Linked DNA regions of Homo sapiens: region 1 is linked to region 2. Evidence: promoter capture Hi-C in human tissues and cell types (Jung and others, 2019). All regions are on one chromosome and are shown on one strand. The core of a region is centred on a gene start or on the middle of the fragment in contact, and the rest is flanking DNA. Distances in the headings are between cores, read along the strand shown. Region 1 overlaps EPB41L1 (erythrocyte membrane protein band 4.1 like 1). Region 2 holds the start of GSS (glutathione synthetase).

Evidence for each region. Contacts are between HindIII fragments. The study calls those that stand out against the background at their distance.
Region 1: a fragment that was not itself captured here is called in contact with the fragment with the promoter of GSS in region 2 in 1 of the 25 tissues and cell types used here (mesenchymal stem cells).

Annotation. Positions count from the first base shown.
Region 1 is chr20:36,159,428-36,166,629 of GRCh38, reverse strand. The region is part of intron 1 of EPB41L1 (erythrocyte membrane protein band 4.1 like 1); the gene reads right to left. Among named protein-coding and RNA genes, the nearest start is that of EPB41L1-AS1, 7.3 kb to the right of the region's middle. The HindIII fragment of the contact is 5,943 bases long and covers 369-6,311 here.
Region 2 is chr20:34,953,124-34,960,366 of GRCh38, reverse strand. GSS (glutathione synthetase) reads left to right here and starts at 4,561. Exons shown (of 13, transcript NM_000178.4): 1 at 4,561-4,640. MYH7B (myosin heavy chain 7B) reads right to left here and starts at 4,499. Exons shown (of 45, transcript NM_020884.7): 1 at 4,360-4,499; 2 at 2,155-2,269. RefSeq lists enhancers at 4,234-4,413, 4,654-4,753. The HindIII fragment of the contact is 12,827 bases long and covers 1-7,243 here.

The sequences.
Region 1 (7,202 bases), core at 2,091-4,590, 1.2 Mb before region 2:
CAGGTGTGAGTCACCACGCCCAGCTGGGTGGTCGGTTTTCACAGTAATTATCACAAACTGATCTTCTATCATTGATTGATTTACTTATTTCTTTTTATCCCTCCTTCCAAAATAAACTCCATAAAGATAAGAATTTTGTCTGGTTAGCCATTATCCCCAGGGCTCAGCGCAGTTCTTGATAAATAAAAACAACATTATCATTTGTAGTCTGCTATTTGCTAGGCGCTGATCTGAGTACTTTACATCAATGAACTCACTTCATCTTCACAATAACCTATAATGGGTAATAGGTACTCTTATTATCCCTATTTTACAAAAGAAGAAACTGAAGCAGAAAAGTTAAGGAACTTGCTCCAGGTCACACAGCTAGTAAACAGCAGTGCCAGAATTCACATTCAGCAGATTTGGCATCAGATGGAGGGGTAGATGGATAAAAGGTTGAACACATGGATAACTGATGGATAGAACACAAAGAGACAATTTCTAGTCTACCCAACTGAGGATGGAGACCTGGGCTGCATTCACCTTGGGAGCCTTTGTGGCTACCAGCCAGCCTGCCTCTCCTGATGATTTATTTTATCTCAACACCTGATGTTTCCATCCAAAGTCCTGATATTATTCTCCTCATTTTACTAATGAGGATGCACACGTGCAAAGAGGCAAATGGATTTGTCCAAAGTCATAAGGCTGTGCCAGGTATCTCTGACTCCAGAGTTCTTCCCACTGTATGGCATTCCAGCAACCTCAGGGGGCTCATGCTGTACTGATTTCTCCCAGGGTTGGGGCTGGCTAAAGAAAGACTTCCCAAGATTGAAAAGGAAATATACTGGGAAGAGCTGAACTCAGAACTGGGACCACTGCTGCTTCAGTGCTTCCACTTCCGATCTGATCAGCTTTGGGCAGGTCACTTCCTCTTTCTTTCTTCTTTTTTGAGATGGATTCTCGCTCTGTCGCCCAGGCTGGAGTGCAGTGGCACAATCTTGGCTCACTGCAACCTCTGCCTCCCTGGTTCAAGCAATTCTCCTGCCTCAGCCTCCCGAGTAGCTAAGATTACAGGTGCATGCCACCATGCCCAGCTAATTTTTGTATTTTTAGTAGAGACAGGGTTTCACCATGTTGGCCAGGCTGGTCTTGAACTCCTGACCTCAGGTGATCCACCCACCTTGGCCCCCCAAAGTGCTGGGATTACAGGCGTGAGCCACCACACCCAGCCACTTCCTCTTTCTGAGCATGTTTCCTCATGTGTCAAACAGGGATGAGAGACCCTGTCCACATCAGAGGAAGGCCATGGAGATCAAGGCTATTACAGAGAATGGGAGGACTTTGAGATACAAAAGTTAATGTCCTGGGCCAGGCGCGGTGGCTCATGCCTGTAATCCCAGCACTTTGGGAGGCCGAGGCAGGCAAATCACTTGAGGCCAGGAGTTCAAGACCAACCCAGCCAACATGGTGAAACTTTGTTCCTAGAAAAAATACAAAAATTAGCCAAGTGTGGTGGTGCGTGCCTGTAATCCCAGCTACCTGGGAGGCTGAGGCAGAAGAATTGCTTGAAACTGGGAGGCAGAGGTTGTAGTGAGCTCAGATCGCACCACTGCACTCCAGCCTGGGTGACAGAACGAGATTCTGTCTCAAAAATAAATAAATAGCCAGGCGCAGTGGCTCACACCTGTAATCCCAGCATTTTGGGAGGGTGAGGCGGGTGGATCACCTGAGGTCAGGAGTTCGAGACCAGCCTAACCAATATCGTGAAACCCTATCTCTACTAAAAATACAAAAATTAGCCGGGCATGGTGGCAGGCTCCTGTAGTCCCAGCTACTCGGGAGCCTGAGACAGGAGAATTGCTTGAACCTCGGCAGCAGAGGTTGAAATGAGCCGAGATCATGCCACTGAACTCCAGCCTGGAGACAGAGCAAGACTCCATCTCAAAAAAATAAAATTAGATAAATAAATAAATAAAAAGTGAATATTCTGCTGGATACAGAGGAGACTATGTTATAGATGCTTATGACATGTACACAAGAAGCATGTCTTTGTATGCATAGGCACAGCAGTGAAACAACATGAGAACACACACAGCCACATGTATCATGCAAGCAAGGTTGTCTCTTCTAAACCCTGCACACCGATGACACCAAAGACTGTTGCCCAGGTGTTCTTGGAAATTCTGAACCAGGTGAGAGAGGAGATGGGGGGCAGGGGAGGGAGGAGACACCAAAACACCAAGAGACTCCCAGGCAGAAAAAAAGTCTCTTGTTTTGAATGATGTTTTTAATAGTCAGTTACTAAGACAACTCTTTCTGGGAAGTCAGAGGACATGTCTCTCCCATCTCCCTACAACCATGTCGCTTGGGTTGTTAGTCTCCATGTGCACCCCCAGATCCATGACCTGCTTGAAGAAGCAGGAGGCTGGCCCATTGGACTGTCCCTTGAGCTCCCTTGCCTCCTGGTTTCTGGTTCCATTTGGCCAATAGAAGACACTGGCAGGGGCCGGGCACAGTGGCTCACGCCTGCAATCCCAGCATTTTGGGAGGCCAAGGTGGGTGGATGACTTGGGGTCAGGAGTTTGAGACCAGCCTGGCCAACAAGGTGAAACCCTGTCTCTACTAAAAATATAAAAATTAACTGGGTGTGGTGGCAGGCGCCTGTAGTCCCAGCTACTAGGGAGGCTGAGGCAGACCTGGGAGGTGGAAGTTGCAGTGAGCCAAGATCATGCTACTGCACTCTAGCCTGGACGACAGAGACTCTGTCTTAAAAAAAAAATAATAAAGAAGAAGGCACTGGCAGGAATTCAGAAGGTGGAAGGAGAGAGATCCTGGGTGTATCTTCCCCAATTTCTCTCTCTGTGGTCCTGGTGGTGGCTGAGCCCCTCTGCGACAGCTCCCTGCCCACCTCTACCAGTCACGGAACTCAGGTAACACCACTCCCTCCTGCTCATTCAGGCCGAGAGCTAGTAATGCCTTCTGTCACTGTTAGTTTGTGGGTGCCTCACCATCCCATGTGGGTTCCCCTCACCCTGCTCACATCTTTATTAACATCTCCTCAGGTGAAGCATCTGAGTGGAATTCTGTTTCCTGTCAGAATCTGACTGATCCACCACCTGATGCTCACTTAGGATAAGGGGAGCCTGAGAAGAGGCAGAATAAGCTAAGAAGTCAAGGAAGGCAAGGGAACCGTCAGGAAGCCCCTTAACCTCTTTGTGCCTCAGTTTCTTCATCTGTAAAGTCATGATGATAAACTTACATACCTCACAGGCTTACTGTGAAAATGGAATCAGATCATGCCTGTAAAACACTAAACACATACCAGAATATTAGAAATATTTGCTCCAGAAATATTACTCTCCAATTAAGTCCAAAGACTAAAATGTTAACAATAGCCTTCCCTTGGAGAAGGAAATAGGGGCCTTTTTCTCCGTATTTTTCAATTTTCTACTATGAGCATGTATTACTTTCGGAGTCAGAAAAGAAAAAAGAAGAATTACAAGAAAAAAAAAAAAAAACAGAAAGAGTGCCTATTAGGGCTTATTCTTTCTCTCACTTGCTGGAGATGATGTGACTTCCTTCCCAAGGGGACTTCCCCAGTATGGAACACTCACTTCCCTGAGTGATAATGTCTACATGGACGTGAATGAAAGGATGGAGGGTACAGGCTGAGAGAGCTGCCTCTGAGACCTCAAGCCACTTTCACAGCCAGGCAAGAAGGATCAAAAAGGGAGCTGAGTCTGCAGTCATCCTGTCTGGTGCTTGGATTTGTACATGGCAGTGGGGAGACGGCAATTCGTCAGAGGTTTGCAGTACCCACGGACACCACTTTAGACCAAACAATGTGAAAAGGCCACCACCCATCAGCCTTGGCTTCTTGCCCAAAAGCTTCACGGGCCACTAGGGAGCCTCAGGCTGATGTGCAGTGGTGGGCTGGGGACCACGTGACAGCACAGAACTGCAGAGTAACAGCATTAAAACGGAGACATGCGTCCCACCTGGCCCATCCTGATGACGATGCAGAAGGCAGAGAGAGACCTCCCGTTAGCAGGGTATCCTCCGAGAGCTGGGCAACATGCTGGCTGTCTTTTGGGCTTTATCTTATTTGAGCTGCACAAGGGCCACACGGAGTAGGTGAGCTTATTTCCCAGGCGGCTTAGTGGCCAAGGCCACATGGCTAGTCAGTTTCAAGGAGAGCCAGGACTAGGACTCAAGTCTGCTGGCTCACAGTCCAGTGCTCTCCCCACTCAATGCTGCTACATCCCACGACCTCCAACTTGCTGTAAGCCATATAACCAAAGCTACTGTTGCTCTGGATGTAGAAATAATAACGGCAGTATCAATCCCTCCCACATGCAGGGCACTTTACAACTTAAAGGATCTTTTTATAATCATTTTGCTTGGACCTCACCAATTAGCCACTGTTGAGAGTGGGCAGGAAACAGCAGTTACAGACATGGGCTTATGAGCCAGAGCTGGAATCCTGATGCCACAGGCTTGGTGACCTTGGGCAGGTTACTTAACCTCTATTGAGAAGACTATCCCCTGCACCTCCAAGGTGTATAGTGAGAATTAAATGAGATAGGCAGGGTGTGGTGGCTCACGCCTGTAATCTCAGCACTTTGGAAGGCCAAGGAGGGAGGATTGCTTGAGCCCAGGAGTTTGAGAGCAGTCTGGGCAACAGAGCGAGACACTGTCTTTACCCTGTGCCCCCCCCAAATTAGCCGGGCATGGTGGGGTGCACCTGTAGTCCCAGCTACTCAGGAGGCTGAGGCAGGAGGATCACTAGAGCCTGGGAGTTTGAGGTCACAGTGAGCTGTGACTATGCCACTGCACTCCAGCCTGGGTGACAGAGTGACAGGCTGTCTTTAAAAAAACAAGAATAACGACTGGGCCTGTAATCCCAGCACTTTGGGAGGCTGAGGCAGGCAGATCACCTGAGGTCAGGAGTTCGAGACCAGCCTGGCCAACACAGTGATAACCTGTCTCTACTAAAAATACAAGAACTAGCCAGGCAGGTGGCACGTGCCTGTAATCCCAGCTACTTGGGAGGCCAAGGCAGGAGAATTGCTTGAACCGGGGAGGCGGAGGTTGCAGTGAGCTGAGATCCTGCCACTGCACTCCAGCCTGGGCAACACAGCAAGACTCCATCTCAAAAACAAAACAAAAAAACCCAAAAAACAAACAAACAAAAAAATAAGAAGAATAAAATAAAAAGAAAAAATAGAAAAACAGATAATGCACATGAAGCTTGCTCTAGCACAGTATTTGACATATAGAAGACACTCAGTGGCAGCAATGGCTCTGATCACCACCAGACAGATGGACAAACTGAGGTACAGAGAAGGTAGAAAGCTTGTCCAAGGACAGTCTGGGTGTGGGCAGCTGCACAGCCCAAGCAGCAGCTTAGAGCATCCTAAGAGAATTTGAAAATTTCCTAGGAGAGCTCCATACTGGGTGGGTGAAAGAAAGGGTCTTTCCCTGGGACATCACCACCTTTTGAGGGTGACAGAGAGATGGCCTCCTCCAAGACCAGTTCCCCCAGGCTCCAGTGAGGAGAGGAGGGAACAGGAGAAGGGAGAAGCAGCAGACCTTTGAGGGCAACTCTCACGGTCTCATGGTTTCTGACTCCTTCTCTCACTTGATTTTCACTAATTGTCTAAATACTGTTAGAGTTCAGTTAGCGTTACTTAGAATACCGTAAAATTGGAAACAACTTCAAATGTCAATCAACAGGGGGGCTGGCCAAATTAGTAGGGTTTATCCATTAAAAATTTAATTATGAAAGTATAACATACCTATTGCAAAAATTTTTGAGATAGATTTTATATCTACTGACATAAAAAGATGTCAATGTGTAGTTACATGAAAAATGCAAGTTGTAAAACAATAATGCAATGTATGATCCCATTCTGGTTTGTATGTTTATGTTGGTATAGAAAATATCCTGGAAGGATACACAACATGCTGTTATTAGCTACGACTGGAGAGTAGGATTTGTTTGGGGATCTAAGGGGAGAATACACTTTTTTTCTTTCTTTCTTTCTTTTTTTTTTTTGTGACGGAGTCTCGCTCTGTCACCCAGGCTGGAGTGCAATGGCGCAATCTCGGCTCACTGCCCCACAACCTCTGCCTTCCGGGTGCAAGAGATTCTCTTGCCTCAGCCTCCTGAGTAGCTGGGATTACAGGCGCCAGCCACCATGCCCGGCTAACTTTTTGTATTTTTAGTAGAAATGGGGTTTCACCATGTTGGCCAGGCTGGTCTTGAACTCCTGACCTCAGGTGATCTACCCGCCTCAGCCTCCCAGAGTGCTGGGATTATAGGCATGAGCCACCGTGCCTGGCCTACACTTCTGAATTATTAGATTTTCCACAAATTTTTTTTGTAATTAAAACTAAAGAAAAGTAAATATAACAGTAAAGAAATATTTGTTTTTCTGTTTTATTCACTTCCCATATGCTTGCTGGAACTCCATTTTCTACCTGTTTTCTTCCAATCTGTATCTATGTTCATACCTAATTTTATACCATTGTAATATGAATACTGATAATCTTATGGGTCTTCTTTCCCATTTAACATTAATTGTATCAGACCATTAATGACATCACATCATGACATCATCATCATCTCCACTAATGTTCATGGATACTTCACTATGTACTAGTTACCATGCCAAGATGTTTACATGCCTTAACTTATTCAATCTTGATGACAACCCTAAAACCAGGTACTTGGACTATCCACATTACAGCTGGGCAAACTGGGGCTTTGAAAGATTAATTAACTTGCCAATTGCCTCACAGCTAGTAAAAACAGAAAGAAGACTTAAACCCTGTTCTATGCAAGTGCCAGGTCCTCACTGGGAACCTCTCTGTCCTATTCCCCTCGAAGATAGTGAGTGGTTAGTGAGAAGAATGTGGCAAGTAGGGAATAGCAAGAATATGGCAGGCACTATGTCTTACAACTTGAGTGACCTTGATCAAGTCACTTCCCCTCTTGATTAGTTCACTCATTCTTTCATCGGACAAGTATTTGCAAACCACTGAGCAACATGCTGCGACGAAACAATGAATAAAATGTGAACTCAACTCTGCCTTCAAGGAGACTGGAGTCTAGCGTCATTCTCTTCAAACACAGAAAGGATCTAGCCCCGGCCCCACCTCTGTCGCAGAGCAGTCATAAGCACAAAATGAATCAAGGATGCAAAAGAGCTTTGCAA
Region 2 (7,243 bases), core at 3,312-5,811:
CTACTCGGGAGGCTGAGGTAGGAGAATGGCATGAACACGGGAGGCGGAGCTTGCAGTGAGCCAAGATGGCGCCACTGCACTCTAGCCTGGGCTACAAAGCAAGACTCCATCTCAAAAAAACAAAAACAAAAAAAACCCACAGTCCAGACTTGGAGAGAGGCCCTCGCAGGGAGAAAGGCAAGACACAAAATTAAGGGATTGGCCTCCATTCACAGTGAAGTACATCCCTGCATACCTTTTTTCACCTAATTCAGACCCAAATGTTCCCACAAACCCCAAGAACAGAGGATGAAATTGATTCAACAGTTAGCTTTGGGAAGTCTGAGCCCATGGCATGTCCCAAGGTACATATGTGGGAACACCATGGCTGACACTGCTGCTGTGATCTTTGGCAAGTCAGGATACCTCTTCAAGCCTTCCTTTCCCCGGCTGTAAAATGGAGGCTATAAAGATACTGATGTGATAGGGAGGTAAGGGAAAGTGAGATAACGACTGTAAAGTCATTAGCCAAGTACCTGACACTTAGCGACCAGATCAATAAAGGGTAGTTATTGTTAGGAAAAAACAGATTTCACTTTGAAAGTGAGGAAAGCCAGGCGCGGTGGCTCACACCTGTAATCCCAGCACTTTGGGAGGCTGAGGCAGGCAGATCACGAGGTCAGGAGTTCGAGACCAGCCTGGACAGCAAGGTGAAACCCTGTCTCCACTAAAAATACAAAAAATTAGCTGGGCATGGTGGCATGTGCCTGTAATCCCAGCTACTCGGGAGACTGAGGCAGGAGAATTGCCTGAACCCGGGAGGCAGAGGTTGCAGTGAGCCAAGATCGTGCCACTGCACTCCAGCCTGGGTGACAGAGAGAGACTCCATCTCAAAAAAAAAAAAAAGAAAGAAAGAAAAAAAATAAAATGAGGAAAGTGGGATTCGGAGAGGTGAGATGACTTCTGCACAGTCAGGATTCAAACTCAGGTCTGAGACACCAGAGGCTCAGGGCAAATCATCTCCCTCTGCTCCGGAATCTTCAGCAGGTTCCCTACAGTCCACTACATGGACTCCATCCTTGCCAGGGAGTGAGGATCCAGCAAAGGCCTGGGGCCAAAAAGACCCTGGGCAAGTTCCCCAATCCTATGTGTCTTGATCTGAGATCCCCAAGTGAGCCTGAGAAGGTCTGTGAATTCCTCCACGTAGCTGATGCAAAATTTTATACTAATGGATCTCAGACGAGTCTATAGCCTCAAAAGTAACAAACCACAGACTTGACCTGACTTAGCATGGTTTCTTATTCACCCAATGGAGATACGATTTCTACCTTGAAAGGCTGTGAAGGGATTAAATGAGGTAATTTGTGAGAAGTACTTGAAACATCCTCAGCTTTCATTAAATGTTGGTTTCCTTCTCTTTCTCTCTCCCCAAACTATTTCCATCAGTTAGCAAATATTATTGAGCATCTGCCACGTGGCAGGCACCAGTCAGGTCCTGGGGGTAAAGTGGTGAACAAGACAGACATGGCCCATTTTCATGGGGCTCACATTCTAGCAGAGGGAAACAGCAAACAAATAAAAGCAACAATTTCAGATATGAATAACTGCTATGAAGAAAATACAAGGCCGGGCACGGTGGCTCACGCCTGTAATCCCAGCACTTTGAGAGGCAGAGGCGGACGGATCACAAGGTCAGGAGTTTGAGACCAGCCTGATCAACATGGTGAAACCCTGTCTCTCCTAAAAATACAAAAATTAGCCGGGCATGGTGGCACGTGCCTGTAATCCCAGCTACTCAGGAGACTGAGGCAGGAGAATTGTTTGAACCCAGGAGACAGAGGTTGCAGTGAGCCAAGATCGCACCACTGCACTCCAGCCTGGGCAACAGAGTGAGACTCCATCTCAAAAAAAAGAAAAGGATAACGTGATAGACTTATAGGGTGGGGCAGCCTCCAGGGATGAAACATCTGAATGACCAAAGGAGCCAGTCATGCCAGGATTTTGGAGGAAAGCACCCAGGCAGAGAGTGCAGAAAGGGCAAACGCTCCCTGGAAAGATTCTTAGTCAAGAGTCCTTCACTCCCAGTCCTACCACAAACTGGGTCACCTTGAACAAGTCACGTAACTTCTGAGGCTCAGCTGCCACATCTACAAAATGGGAATAAAGACATCTTACCTGCCACATTGTGAGAGGTTTCAACCAAAGGGCTGTTAAGGTCTGGGATCCTCCCCAAATCTCACCATAGACACCTGATACTCATCACTTGGCACCCGTCTTGGAAGAGGGGAACCTGCACAGAGAACCCTGGGTCATGCTTTTGATTTTTAATTTCATGCTGCACTAGAAATAGCTTCTTTTGTTCCTGGTTGACCCAGGAGCCTCTTCCTGCCACCTGGGGCCTATTCTAGTTAACAGCTGCTTATCCCCTCAGGTACAAAAGCCAACGAGGAAAGGACATCAGGAAACATTGTTCTGGGAATAACCAGACACCTATCTGCCACCATCTCCCCCCATCCCGTGACCACACACGGGAGACTGGAGGACTCAGCCTGTCCTGTAGTCAGATAATGTACATGGTTTATTTAAAGAGTCAAAAGGGGCCGGGCGCAGTGGCTAACGCCTGTAATCCTAGCACTCTGGGAGGCTGGGGCGGGTGGATCACCTGAGCTCAAGAGTTTCAGACCAATCTGGCCAACATGGTGAAACCCTGTCTCTACCAAAAATACAAAAATTAGCCGGGTGTGGTGGTGGACGCCTGTAATCCCAGCTACTTGGGAGGCTGAGGCAGGAGAATTGCTTGAACCTGGGAAGTGGAGGTTGCAGTGAGCTGAGATCGTGCCACTGCACTCCAGCCTGGGCAACAACAACGAAAACTCCGTCTCAAAAAAAAAAAAAAAAAAAAAGAGTCAAAAGGATCTTGGTCCCTGGGTTGGGCCACTGATTTACGATCACTAGGAGTTCTCACTCCTAAATTTCTTTGATCTGTTCGCTTCGCTCCATCTCCACAGCTGCTGCACTGGCTACAGCCTCATGATCTCACATCTTAACTCTCTCTGCTTTCTCTGGCCCATCTCCCCACTTCCAAACCATTTGTCACGCTGTAACCAGTGCCTAACACACAAAACTAACCATGTCCTTCCCCTGCTTAAAGCCCTTAGCTCCTGTTGCTCAGTGGAACTGGCGTCTGAGGCTACCTCTCCAAGCCTAAGCGCCTAAGTCCTGTTGCAACCCTCAGGCCCTTCCTCATTATCCACACCAAACTCCTCAGTGTCTGTAAAACAAGCCGAGCAACCCTCAGAATTATATGCCTTCGCTGCTCGTTTGTTTTGTTTTTAGGACAGGGTCTCACGCTGTCACCCAGGCAGGAGTGCTGCAGCGTGATCTCAGCTCACAGCAGCCTCCGTCTCCGGGGCTCAAGAATTCTCACGCCGCAGCCTCCCGAGTAGCTGGGATTACAGGCACGGGCCAACACACCCGGCTAATTCTTGTATTTCTAGTAGAGACGGGGTTTCGCCATGTTGCCCAGCCTGGTCTCCAACTCCTGAGCTCAAGTAATCCACCTGCCTCGGCCTCTCAAAGTGCTGGGATTACAGGTCTGAGCCACTGCACCCAGCCAGCCTTTGCTGCTTTTGTTCCTGCAATTTGGAACACTGTCCCCATCCCAGCCTCTCACCTCTACCCCTACCTCCTTCACTACCTATACCTTCCTATCCATCCTTCAAGACCCCAAAAACCATCCCTGATTCCTTCAGAAAGGCAGTTTATTGCCTATCTTATCAGACTGAAAGCAGTGGCTGTGTCTTATTTATGGTTAATTCCCTAGAAGCTGGACTGATACATTCCATTTAACTAAAATTCGTATCAGGTGCTTCGGACTGCAGACAAGCCTATCACAACCCAGAAGGAAGAAACAGGGAAGGCACCTGGGGGCTGCCAAGCAATGAGGTGGGGGGTAGGAATCATGAATCCGCATATTTTTAAAAACTGCCCCAGATCCTGATGTAAACGGTACAAGAGAGTCTGAGAAACACAGGGCTCCCCTCAAACAGTCCTGACTTCAGCATTCCTGGAAAAATGAAAATCCTTTCCTTTTGCCTCTAATGCTTTCCCTGCTGGTATCCCAGGTTAAAAAAAAATAGATAAAATCAGGGGGATTTTTCTGGGACTTGGCTGGGCTGGGAAACAAGCCTGGGTTCTAATACAGGCTCAGCCCCTGACGTACTATGGGCCCCTGCCCCTCCTTGGGGCCTCCATTACCACGGCCACCCCCACCCTTATCAATTGTGTGCCCCTGAGGTAGTGACTGTCCCGCTCTGAGCATTAGTTTCCCCATCTTCCACTAGTCGTCGTCAGCTCTGACGCTCTATGAGCTATGCATACCCGTAGCTCCCCGCCGACCCCGATGGTCCCCTCCCCTCCTTCCCAAGGTCCATCCGCCAGGGTGCAGCCGACGCACTCCTAATGCTAAGGCCGCCCTCTCATCGACCGCCCCTTCCTGGCCTCGACTCAGCGCCAAAGGTATGGGTCTCTGCCCCGCCTGCTCTTTAAGCCTAGCCGGGGCGGTCAGCGCAAGCGCACTGGGTCGCATCGAGGCCCCGCCCCCTGAGCCTGGGTAGCGGCGCGAGGGCCGGGAGAACCGTTCGCGGAGGAAAGGCGAACTAGTAGGTTGGGGCGGCCACGGCGGCCGGCATGGGTCACGTTTCCTCGGGAGGAACGATGTGAGGGAGGGGTCTGGCAAGAGATTGGAATTCCGGAGGCCGGGAGACCTTGTGGCTGAAACCCTTCGTAGGAGCGGGGCAACTAGTGTCTAGTGAGGGGGTTGGGCTGGCGCGCACTGATCCCAGACTTTCCGGATCTTCTGCCTTTAGATCGGGCCGGTGTCGGGGCATGTAGGCCAGTGAGACTGGAGCCAGTTAGAGCTACAACGGGGAGCGATTAGGGCCAAACTTTGTCCAGGGTGGAAGCGAGCGGGCCCGTGAAGTGGGGCCAGCCTGGGCAGCCGACCGTGTCGTTGCCTCGGGGCCTTTCCAGGCACTGGCCTAAGTCCTGGCGATAAAGTGCGACCGATTTCCTTGTGGGCGTTTTGAGGCTTTCGGTGATCTGACCCGTCTGTCATTCATTCTTCATTCATTCATGTGATGAATGAATACAGTACTAAGCGCGGCTAATTACTAGGTAGAGAAGTGATCAAGACAAACACTGTTCCTACGGTACAGGGAAAAGTGATGGGCTGTAGAATGTAGAAGCCCGGGGCGGAGAACAGGGACAGCTTCCGGAACGAAATCGCGAGCCCAGATCAGGAGTGGTGGCGAGAGTTCCAAAGAGAAGACAGCACGTGCCAAGTCCTGGAAGGGGGACAGAGGCCAACATATCCTGGTCACTGAAGACACCTGACTCTGAATCTGTTTCACGCCCAGGGAAGAGATGACAGTGGCCGGGGCTAGGCTACAAACTCTGGAAATGGAGATAAATAAAGGAATTCAAAGTACTATATACTTAGGCAGCAAAATCCATAGGATTTGGGGAGAGTGAGATGTAGGAAACAAGTACTCAAGGCTTGGGTACCTGGGTGGGGTTCATCAGAGAAGAAGCAGATTTGTGGGAGACAACAACAAATTCTATTCTGGTTGTATGGAGACTCGCAGGAAAAAATTGGATATTCTAGTTTGAAGGTAGGAAAGTATTGCTGTGAAGATGTAGATTTGAATGTCATCAGCAAAACATAAATAAAGCCAAGGGAGGGTTGAGGCTGTAGAATGAGAAAAACAAAGGGCCCACTTAGCACCTTCATCTGATTTCTTTTCTTTCTTTCTTTTTTTCTTTTTTTTTTTTTTTGACAGAGCTTTGCTCTTGTTGCCCAGGCTGGAGTGCAATGGCACGATCTCGGCTCACTACAACCTCCACCTCCTGGGTTCAAGCTATTCTCCTGCCTCAGCCTCCCAAGTAGCTCGGATTACAGGCATGCGCCACCAGGCCCGGCTAATTTTGTATTTTTAGTAGAGATGGGGTTTCTCCATGTTGGTGAGGCTGGTCTCGAACTCCCGACCTCGGGTGATCCGCCTGCCTCGGCCTCACAAAGTGCTGGGATTACACGAGTGAGCCACCACACCTGGCCCATGGTGATTATCTTTATGTCTTATCCTCCTCCATATCCCCAGTACCTAGTCAAGGGAGTGGCATTAAATGCAAATCAGTGTTTGCCAACTAAATAAAAGCCCAACAGCAAACAGATGTTGGAATTTCAGAGTTGTGGAACGATGGGGGCTCATGGAGGGTTTCATTACTCTAATGTCAAGGTAATGGGTTCTTGTCCTGGCTCTGCCACTAGGCTTCTGTGTGACCTCTGACAAGTCTCCTCCTACCTATAAAGAGAGTACAGCCAAAAAATGGTCTCATGTATAGAGCTTCAAACACTGCTGATAAATTTCACACTGATTTTTCTCTTTTAATCCACACAGCAATCTTACTTGAAAGGGAAGTCGGCTGGGCGGGGTGGCTCACGCCTGTAATCCCAGCACTTTGGGAGGCCGAGAGTGGGGGATCACGAGATCGAGACCATCCTGGCTAACACGGTGAAACCCCGTCTCTACTAAAAATACAAAAAATTAGCCGGGCATGGTGGCAGGTGCCTGTAGTCCCAGCTACTCGGGAGGCTGAGGCAGGAGAATGGCATGAACCCAGGAGGCGGAGCTTGCAGTGAGCCGAGATCGTGCGGCTGCACTCCAGCCTGGGCGACAGAGCCAGACTCCGTCAAAAAAAAAAAAAAAGAAAGAAAGAGGGAGGGAGAGAGAGAGAAAGAAAGAAAAAGAAGGAAGGAAGGAAGGAAAGAAGGAGGGAAGGGAAAGGGAAAGGGAAAAGGAAGGAAGGAAAGAAGGGAAAGGGAGAAGTCGTATTATTATGGACTCAAACCCAGGTCTGTCTGTCTGTCTGACTTGAACCTTGTTCTTTACTATGATTGCCCTCATGTATGTCTCACTCAACAGGGATATTATCAGGACCCTCTTGAGATCACATGCGCATTCTTTCAAAGCATTGTGCTGAGGCTGGCAGACTTTCATAATTGGCCTGGCACTGGCTCTGTCATGGGGACAGGGGGACAGAGCTGAATGTGATGGAGGTTTCCTATTATTCTCTAACTCCCTTCCTGGGGACCACTGAGTTGGGCAACCATGTTCTGTTAAATGGCAACAGGGCAGAACAAAATTAGTGACTGTGTTTCCAGATTTTTACCCAGATCTTAAACTCCTGAGGCCTGCTGAAAAAT